3 separate regions of the Homo sapiens genome follow, and regions 2 and 3 are each linked to region 1. Evidence: promoter capture Hi-C in 16 types of primary human blood cells and fetal thymus (Javierre and others, 2016). All regions are on one chromosome and are shown on one strand. Each heading gives the region's core, a stretch centred on a gene start or on the middle of the fragment in contact. The rest is flanking DNA. Distances are from core to core; before and after follow the strand shown.

Region 1 (3,473 bases), core at 354-2,853:
GGCAGATCACTAGAGTCCAGGAACTTGTGACCAGCCTGGGCAATGTGGCAAAACCCTGTCTCTACAAAAAATACAAAAAATTAGCTGGGCATGATGGCACCCACCTGTAGTCTCAGCTACTCGAGAGGTTGAGGTGGGAGGATACTTGAGCCCAGGAGGCTGAGGCTGCAGTGAGCCATGATCATACCATTGCACCCCAGCCTGGGCAACAGAGCAAGACTTATTTTCTCTCTCTCTCCACATATATGTATATATCAAAGTTGGTCTTTACACACAACTTTTATTTAAATGCATGGCCAATTCAAGTAGCAGTTCTTAATTCCTTCTATAAGATTTTAAAGTAATCTGAGGCCTAAAAATTTTAAGTCTATTTTTTGTTTGGAAGACATGACAATAAATCTGCTCCCTCCTCCCATAACATATGTATTAATCCTTTGATTTACATTCTACTTAGAGTTTGACAATGAACCTGAAGTTGACCCTTCCCCCAAATTTACTGGGCCCTTATGAGGGCCAACTATAAATGTATAATATACTAACAAATACTTTGGTTACTTAGTGTATACTCATGTAAGTGTATACTCATACATTTTTATATATTAAGTCCAGGCTCACTCAATATATACAAGTGTATCAGTATAAGCCTTATTGGGAGATAGTCTATTTAAGATAAGATCTCTCTGGATAGGATACAAAAAGGCAATCGCCATTCCCTATGGACACACTTCAAAGGGGGAAGCTTTCAGCTTGGTTTTTGAATATATATAACCAACTCATTAAGGCTGTGTCAGCTCCTCATTAGCACTCAACTCAGAAAGGGTTTCTTGACTACCTCATGAAATAAGGGGTTTTGATAACTATCCCCCAGGAGTATAAAATAGCTTTCCTATTTACTGGAGAAAGCCACAAAATTAGACTTGTAAAATAGGACAAAGCACCCTTTCATTTTCCAAGTCACTTGGTTGGTGTAAAATTTCCATTCTTCTGCTCCTCAGATCATTAATGAACAAGGGATGCGTTTCAAAGGGTTTAAACAAGCAGACCTGAAAATTCTGTTCAGCTTAGTGTATGAAAATCAGATGTTAGATAGCTTTCTTCCCAGGAGGCTGGGGAACGCTCAGCACCTACCAAGGCTTCCTTCCCTACAGTTAGGACTGAGGTGTAGGCTTCCAGATACACTCGACTGCAGCGTCTAACAACTTCCAGGCCCTTGACTGTGATGTCCTTGGCATCTCCCAGGCCCAACCCGATGAGATAAAGCATTTCAAACTTGAGGAGAAGAGAGACTGCAAGACGAAGTGGACAGAAAAACCGTCAGTAACACCGAGGACATCTAAAATCTAGTGATGAACACGATGACAACCAAAGTAGCACAAGAGAAGAGGCAAGTCACAAGGAGGGGTTTGGGAACCTTATGTCACGCTTAAGAACTGGGATAAGAGGTTTTAAACAACCCTACCAGTTTTGCCTCTTGTTACACAAACCTAGGAGCAGCCAATTACCCGCTGAGAGAATCGTAGGTAGTTCTCTGGCCTTTACAAATTCTTAACTACCACCTTTCCGCAGAAGCAACTGCAAAAGCGCCGGCTCCGTGCAGAGAAAAGGCCCACGCCGCCGGCCTCACCTACGGTGCCGCAAAATGCTGGTGCCTTTACTGCACTTTACGACTAGCGGGAGGGGGCCGGGCTAGCGGGCTACTGGGCTGCGGAGACCAGAGCCCGGCTCCACTGAAGAAACCCGCCGGCTGCTGGGGCAGGGCGGCGAAAGGTCAGTCGGCCGAGAGGAGTCCGTGGAGCCACCGTTTCATAGCCTCAGGGAAAGGATCGGGCGTGCTCACGAGCCCTCTAACCCATGGCTTAAACACCCGCTTCCTAAGCCTGGGTAAGTGCAGTAGCTCTTCGCTCGAGAGGAGCCACGTGGAAGAGAGTCGGGAGGGGCCCTGCGCCCTACTCCTCCTCTCCAGAAACAGGGAGGGCTGGGAAGGATTTTCCTGATTTGTCCCCGGATTTGGCCGAGTGCACAGATTTTAATTCCAGTCTTCTCATCCTCCTGTAGTTCAACTAGGTGTCTTCCTGGTGAAGCGTGAGATTGGCAAACCCAGCAGTGAGTGTGCTTCTGATTTCCCAACAAGGCAATGACTCCTTGGGTTTGTCCCCAAGACCTTATGCCTGGAGTGCCCCAAGGATGTTTCAGTCACCCTCAGTGTCAGGAATCCCAGACCTTCCTGTACCTAAAGAAGTGACCTTTAATAGTGCTCAGGGATTTCAGACCTCTCAAGTGTTTCTGCCGGGGGAATTCTTATAAAGCTGTTGGTTACATGTAATTAGAAATAGGGAAGATTTGTTTTGACTGAAAATGCTCTTCCCAAGGTGACCTCATCCAAGTTAAAAAAGACAGCTGTCATTGCTTTTCTTAGCAGGCAGTGTTGGTTACTCAGAATTTTCCTGTTGCCTCCCCGACAATGCCCAACTCCGCTTCCTTGAACCTTGGCTTTTTTTCATTCCCAGGTTCCATCCACCTTTTTGCACTTCCTATCTATAAACTCTTCGTGGCTGTGTTTTATCCCCTCTCATTACGTTGATCTATTCCTCACACCACATACACACCCCAAAAAACTCAAAATGGATCGTAGATGTAAATGGAAAACCTAAACCTATACCAGAAGAAAACATAGGAGGAAATATTCGTGACCTTATTTAGGCAAATATTTCTTAAACCAAAAGCGTGATGAAAAAAATTGATAAATTGGACTTCAACAAAGTAAAAATTTATGCTCTTCAAAAGACTTGAAGCCACATACTGAAAATATTTACAAAGCATGTATCTGATGAAGGACTTGTATGGAGAATATATAAGGAGCACTCAGAAAGCAATAATAAAACAGTTCGTTGTTTAAAAATGGGCAAAAGATTTGAATAGACACCAAAGAAGATACACAAATAGCAAATAATTATTTTAAAAGATCTTAAACAAACAAAAAAAGATCCTAAACATCATTAGACATTAGGAAAATAAACATTTAAATCACAATGAGCTACCACAACCCACCTATTAGAATGGCTTAAGTAAAACAAACAAAACCTCACAAAAACTGGCTGTTCACTCAGAATTCCTAGTATCGCTAATATTTTGTAGATTCAAATTTCAGCCTCCTATCCAGACTTCCTCCCTCTTGGCTTCATGTTAACGTTCTGCTGGAAATCTTCACCTAGATAACCCGGAAGCATATTCAACACATCCAAGGTTGAATCCATCACCTTCCCTTTCCATTTTGCTTTTCTTTCCATATTATCTACTTGGATGGGTCGGGGGTGGGGGTGGGTGAGGAGAGTATTGTCATCAACAGATTAACCCCAGCCAGACACTTGGGAGTCACCCCCACATCGTCTGTCATGTCTGCCTGTATATCTCAATAGAAACCATACCGTCTATCACCATCTTGATTCTCAGGTCCTCATTTTGTCACTCTTGTA
Region 2 (3,473 bases), core at 297-2,796, 660 kb before region 1:
CCTCCCAAAGTGCTGGGATTACAGGCGGAGCCGTTGCCCCCGGCCCTGTGATCCTCACCACAAATTTTAGAGTAATTATTTTCCTTTTGAGAGCCTCAGCCACTTTATGAAATCTGAGGGTTAGCCTTTTATGTATGGGGGAATCGCTCATCATTCTGTTTTCTAACAAAGCTTTGCATATACTGTCTGTATAGCTCTCCTGCCTTCAGTACTAGCCATTGAATAATGGAGTTAATTTACACTGCTTGAGAATATTTCTGTGGGAGTGAATTTTAATTTTCCCAGTGCATTCCTGAAGAAGTCTCCTTTTGTTTTCGTTAATCTGAGTCTCTAAGGGAGTTTTTATTAACTGACCTTCTCTAACGAGGGATGTTAGAATTACAGACCCTGATACTGGAAGGTTTCTTGATACCATCTGGTCTGTTGTTTGGCTTTAAGGCAAAGTGAAAGCACTCACTTATTTTACAGAAACAGCAGCTGACACCTGACCTGACCAGTATTTACCTCGGGTTAAGAAGGTAATAAGTGGAGAATGGTTCCTCACCCTCTGGTGTTGTAAACCTGAACTTTCTTAGAAATCTAGACAATGCATCAAGGGACAGGATTGATAGTTGATATTGGGGTTCTCTCCTTCCTTTATGATCTCAACAAATGTCAGACTTTTTGCAGACAAGTAAGTAATAAAGATGATAAGTTTCCTAATACATGTAGCTGCTTTGTAGTCTGTGGGTTTGCTTTCTGGCTGTGCAGAAAACAGTGAATTTCATGGAAAAAGTTGTGTTCTTTTCCTTCCTCAAAGAGGAGACACTCTGAGGGAAATGTTTTCTGTACCCAGACCCAATGCACTGAGAGGACAGACAGAACAGAGAACATCAAATAGGGCAAGTAGACCTTGAGAAACATTTGAACAGTTGAATGGGTTTGTCCAATAAGGATAACTAGAGTCATAGACTCTGTAGAGTCTATATAGCGGCTAGAACTGTGATATATGATATTACATAAGAGCTGGAAAGAACTTTAGGAGCCATCTAATTCAGTGGCTTCATTTGATAGATGAGGACGTGGAGTCCCAGAGAGGCTACGACACCAGATTAGGGACACTGAGTGACCAAATTGGGACTGGAACCTTTTGGCACCCAGTGATCTTTAGTTCTGCATCAGACTGCTGTGTGTGTGGGAAGCTTGTTAGATGTGCAGCAACTCTTCCCCAAGAAGTTGGCATCAGTGTGACTGTGGGTGGTTATGCTAAAGGGCTTGAGCAAAAACTCAGACTAGTGCCCTCATCTGAGGTTGGTATTTGTTATGCAGTTAGGACCTTTTTAAAATGTGATCATTATGAGTTCAGCCATAATAATCACGTCTCATACAGAAACTTTATCATCTGACTGGAGGGGTGCGGATAGTATTCTAGTGATAGGGAAACTGTTAGGTAATGTGTGGCCCAGAGGCATTGCTGATCAATTTCAACAAAATTTTACACACACACACACACACACACACACACACACACACGGTCTCATTGTGTTTTGGAGGATACTGCTATTTTAGCATTTATCACATTGTAATAATGTCTTTACCTGTCTTCTCAGTAGATAGTGAGCTCCTTGTGGGTAGGGACTGGTGACCAATAGGCTTTTAGTAACTATTTGAGTGAGCAAGTGAATGAAGAGACAAAAAACGTCAGCAGTGCTGGTAAAACATTGAAAGGTTGGCATGCCTTATAACGATCTTATAGAATTTATTCATCCTGTTTTTAAAGCAGTTAATTTTTTTTGTATTGCAAGTACTCTGTGATGAATATGCTAACTAGTAATGCCTTGCTCAGAATAGGTAGTCATAAATTTTGTTGAATGAATGAGTACTTCTTGGAATGTAGCTTATCTTTTTGCTGAGGTGTTGGGAATTTTCACATGAAGCTTCTAATGTGTAGAATAAGGTATAACAATACTTCAAACAATGATTCCTCTGGGAATTGACTCACTTAAATTATAGTTTATTAGAAAAACCGAAGACAAAATAATGGTACATCATAAACTTCATAAATCTGTGAGAAGAGCTGCACATGTTGAGTATGACAGCAAGGCTTTTAGGCCCAGCTTCTATGTCCCTTCAAATTTGTAGGACCTGCACCTGTGGGGTGGTGGGTGATCCTACCCTTGTGAATGTTTGCTCTGATCCTTGGGCTCCTGTTTCTTTGTTCTCCTGGTAAGGAGATGAACCTCCTTCCTCCTCCACTTGCAGGACTCCAAATGCTCCAATTCTTTTAGTTTCTTTCCTGTCAAAACAGAAAAGGGTTTGATTTTAGCTATTTACACTTACTGAATAAAAAGATGGATGGACCGATTTTCCCTTAATAGTTCATGAGTTTCATTGTAGGCATTGACCCATAATTTGCCAATCTTCTTAGAAGAAATCTGCAAATAGGTGGAGAGAATCATTCGTTCATTTGTTAATTCATTTGGAGATGAACGCACGGGTACTCTGAAATAATAAAATGTCCGTGTTTTTCCCTGGCCACATGAGACCAAAAGACTACTCCCCTCTGCCAAGACAAAGTGGGGACCCGTGCTTGGCTGTGGCTCTGGAAGCCTTTTCCTAGGAAATGCCAGAGTGGAGAAGACTCTGTCCATTGTCATTAACTTCAAGTTTAGGAGTGCACTCAGCCCTCAGATTTCTGAATAGTCTCTGAAGTACTTATTTCTACCATCTCCTCCCTTTTCACTATCCCCAGGTTGATGACCTTCCATTTCTCCTCTTCCACCCTGCTTTTGTTCCAAGCTGCCCAAATAAATCTAGCACATTTGATTATTTTCATTGATTATCAATTAATTTTTATTTTGAATTTCCCTCTAGCTAATAGTATGTATTATAAGTATGTTTTCATTTTTCCCTCAACTCTGGTGAAGAAGGTTCTTACAAAGGAGCATGTTGTTGGAAGATGTCTTCTTTATTCACAGTATTTCATTATACCAAAGTTGGTGATAACCCAGCATGGTGTGAACAACTATCAGCAATTTTTCAATGATCTTGACATTTAAAAATATATTTATTAATAGTAAGCTAGAAAACTATATGTATAAGACTATATTATTTTAAATACATAAATAGTCTTACAAGTGTAAGTATTGTATCAAATGACCTTAAGATAAGATAGAGCTTGTTGGCTTTATATTTGTGACAATTCTGACTTTTGAAGACTTGTTCAAAATTGCTCTTGGTTGTGCAAAACTTTTGACTGAATTTTTTTAGTGTAACTTGAAGCTCATCCGTCTTTTTGTGGGATATAAAGGCTGGCCCACTGAGCTTCAACATACTGTGGGGTGGGAAGTCCTCTGGGTTAGGATTGCTTATTTTTTTTCTACCTTTAACCTGAGGCTCTTGCCAAAAGAGAGGCATAACTTCTTCATTGTTGCTATCTTTGGATAGCAGCCTACTCTTAAAACAGCCTGTCTTTTTGAGAGACAGTGAAGGAG
Region 3 (3,473 bases), core at 410-2,909, 630 kb before region 1:
ATTTCATTTTCTAGTTGAAAAATAGTCCGTTCAGTCTCATAATTCTTACTACAGATATCCAATTTGACTCCATTTCTCTCAATTTAGATCCAGCTGTGAGTTGCATGTTCTTTCTCTGCCAGTTTAAATCTTGAATATGTTTTCTTAACTTCTGAAGTTCTTTCTGTGCATGTTCAATCATATGAACTAGATTTTCATTGTATACTTTCCAGGCATTACATCCATGCTGTGACATTAGTTTCAGATTCTCAGTTGTAACTGCTTGATGCTCTAACTAGGCCATAGAATTGTTTACACATTCTTGCCATGCAGTAATGCCATTTTTTTGACCAGAGGAAGGGGCTGGAAGTTCATATCGTTTCATACTGAGCAATTCAGTTGGTTGTCGAGCAGCCAGTCTCTCAAATTCATTTCTCATCATGTCAGTTTCAAAAGCAGAATAATCCAGGACTGTCAGGTATCTCAGGTAGTTCATAGTAGGTTGGTATCTGCGAGTTTACTTCTCCACCAGCACTGCAGCTGCTTCCTGCACACCAGAGGCTTCATAACCTTGATCAAAATATGGATCAAGTGGTCAATATCAATCAAGCGGTGGCACACGACTGTAATCCCAGCACTTTGGGAGGCTGAGGCGGGCGGATCACAAGGTCAAGAGACGGAGACCATCCTGACCAACATGTCTCTACTAAAAATACAAAAATTAGCTGGGCGTGGTGATGCGAGCCTGTAGTCCCAGCTACTCGGGAGGCTGAGGCAGGAGAATCGCTTGAACCCAGGAGTGGGAGGTTGCAGTGAGCCAAGATTGCGCCACTGCACTCCAGCCTGGCTACCCAGCGAGACTCTGTTCCCCCTCCCCACCGCAAAAAAAAATATATATATATATAGCAGTGCATCCACCTCAACCTCTCCAGCCACCAAACCTGTGCCTGCCATTCTGGGGACCTCAGGTTTGCCCTACTCTTCTCATTTCTTTACCCCTTTTTCCCTCCCTTGCATCTTCTCTCTCTTCTTTCCTTACTTATTTATTTATTTATTTATTGAGACTGAGTCTTGCTCTGCCCCACAGGCTGCAGTGCACTGGTGCGATTGTAGACCATTGTATCCTCAGACTCCTGTGCTCAAGCGATCCTCCTGCCTCAGCCCTCCCTAGAAGGTGGGACTGCAGGTGTGTGCCACCACAGCCAGCTAATTTCATTTTATTTTTGTAGAGACAGTGCCTTGCTTTGTTGCCCAGCCTGGCTTCAGGACTCCTGGCCTCAAGTGATCCCCCTGCTCTGGCCTCCCAAAGTGCTGGGATTACAGATGTGAGACACCACACCCAACCTCTTCTTTCCTTTTTAACACCTATTCTTCCTGTTTTGTTTAGTGTGGTTCTTCATTTTAGCAGGGTGCCTCTAGAACTTTGAAAGGATTAAATTAGATGCGTTGAGCTTGTCACAAAATACTCTGTGACAAAATATGTCTTCTGATGGAGAAGTTTCCACCACTTTAAAGCAACCAAAAGGGGAAAAAGCAGTCCTAGCATGGTGGAAGAAGTGCTGAGTACAGCATGAGCTTGTCTTACACACTAGTTACAGTCTTGAGAAGCAGTGTGAAGTGATTATTCTTGAACTGGTCATGTCCCAATTGATTTTTCTAATTTTGTAACTGTATTCCCCAGAGGGCTTTTTGACACAAACCCTTAATACACACGGAACTAAAAATTGGCAGTGGATCCTTAAAGAGAATTTTATGCCTTTCTTCGTATTGTTTGTATGTATTTACTTGTTGACAGTCTTGTAAGATAGTCAATAATATCCATTATACATATATCTCAGTTAAAATTTACATATATTAAATGTTGCTAGTTGGATAAGTGTCCGTTTTCTGGGGGAATCTTCTCTGGATACAAAAGACCTTTACCTTCGGAGCAGCCATGTAACTTACATGAGGCAAGCTAGGTAGGTAGGTATATTTTATCAAACAGAAGTCTTTAAGAGTGAAGGTGTTCCTGTTCCTAAAATGTGGAATCGGCCCTCTGTTAAGTGGCATTGACTGACTAATAAAAGTATTTTGTACTAAGACAAACCTTTTTCTCAAAGCCTTAGTTTTCTCATTTGTAAAATTTGGATAATACCTGAGTTTCCTTATCTGCTTCACAGGATTATTGTAAAGATCAAATATCCAACTGCCTGTTTGATAGCTCCATATTATACATCTAAATGATACCTCAAATTTATTGTGACAAAACAGAAGTTTTTATTCCTTCTCTCCCTAAATGTATTTATTTCCCAAGTCATTCCCTTTTTAGTAAGTGGACTACCATCAGTGACTTGCTAAATCAAAAGAGTAGTCATTTTGATTTCTTTTGTTCGCTCATCCCACATTCTACTTATTCGTAAGTTTGGTCAGCTCTACCTCTAAAACATATTGAATCAGAATGTATCTTTCCATCTCTGTTGCTATCACCTAGCCCAAGCCACTGTCATTGTTCACCTGGATTATGACCACAGCTTTATATGTTGTCTCCTTTTTATATTCTTGCTTCCCATTAATTTAGTTGCCATACAACTGTCAGAGTAGTCTTTTAAAATTGTAAATTAGATCACGTCATTACCCTGTTTCAAATCTGTTATTGCTCACTGATCTTGGCATAAAATTTATCCTTACCAATGCCATTAAGATCCTTTCTGATCTGACCCTCTCTACCTCTGTGGTCTCCTTGCTCAAGTTGCTCCCCTCATGCTGGACTTCTAACTGAAATTCCATGCTTGTTCCTACCAAAGAGCCTTGATATTTCTGTTCTATCTGGAATGTTCTTACTTCAGACCTCTGCATGCCTGGCTCTTTCTAATGTTACTTTCTCAGAGAGATTTTCTCTTAATTTCTACCCTGTTACCTCCACCCCTAGTCATCCTTTAGACCTTTGTTGCTTTATTTTCTTTACAGCATGCTACTATTTGAAATTACTTTGTTTATGCATTTACTTGCTTATTATCTCTTTCCCAGACTAGAGGGTAAGGACTTTATCTGTTTTGTTCGTCGCTGTGTGTGGAGGGTGATAAAATATTTAACAAGGGGTTAGGCCGGGTATTCACCCGTTGAGTTGGAAGCTGGGACAGGGTCCTGGAGGCTTCTTGCTTTGCTGAATCTTGGGGAAGTCTAGGGCCTAGGGGGTGGGCGTGGGTCCCAAGGAAGAGACTAGGATGGCCAGTGTGGAGTGGAGTGGTGTGCTGTGGGCTGCAGCTATTTACCAACTGGTATAGAACTATTTCAGTATTTGAACACTATCAATTTAGAGCTGTGCCTGGTATGTAATGGGTGCTCTGTAAGTATCTTTTGAGTGAATGAATAATGGGATGACAAAACATGAAAGAAAGAAGGTAATATATGGGAAACTCCTGAAAATAATGAAGTTGGACGTAAGGTATAAAGTGGTGTCTTCCCCTTTACCAGAATATTTGTAGTCATGACTGAGCCAACTTTGGTTTTTA

The links. Contacts are between HindIII fragments. The CHiCAGO score rates a contact against its expected background, and 5 or more counts as called.
Region 2: a contact is called between a fragment that was not itself captured here and the fragment with the promoter of DPH5 in region 1, in 1 of 17 cell types (monocytes). The highest score is 5.1, in monocytes.
Region 3: a contact is called between a fragment that was not itself captured here and the fragment with the promoter of DPH5 in region 1, in 1 of 17 cell types (activated CD4 T cells). The highest score is 8.6, in activated CD4 T cells.

The regions. Positions count from the first base shown.
Region 1 is chr1:101,024,181-101,027,653 of GRCh38, forward strand. It overlaps DPH5 (diphthamide biosynthesis 5), which reads right to left and starts at 1,604. Exons shown (of 8, transcript NM_015958.3): 1 at 1,503-1,604; 2 at 1,129-1,286. The coding sequence starts at 1,263. DPH5-DT (DPH5 divergent transcript) reads left to right here and starts at 1,666. Exons shown (of 5, transcript NR_109849.1): 1 at 1,666-1,881. RefSeq lists enhancers at 1,134-2,333, 1,426-1,535 and a silencer at 3,327-3,386. The HindIII fragment of the contact is 3,765 bases long and covers 738-3,473 here.
Region 2 is chr1:100,364,466-100,367,938 of GRCh38, forward strand. The region is part of intron 2 of CDC14A (cell division cycle 14A); the gene reads left to right. Among named protein-coding and RNA genes, the nearest start is that of CDC14A, 14 kb to the left of the region's middle. The HindIII fragment of the contact is 735 bases long and covers 1,180-1,914 here.
Region 3 is chr1:100,393,094-100,396,566 of GRCh38, forward strand. The region is part of intron 4 of CDC14A (cell division cycle 14A); the gene reads left to right. It also overlaps the pseudogene BCAS2P2. Among named protein-coding and RNA genes, the nearest start is that of CDC14A, 42 kb to the left of the region's middle. The HindIII fragment of the contact is 4,409 bases long and covers 1-3,473 here.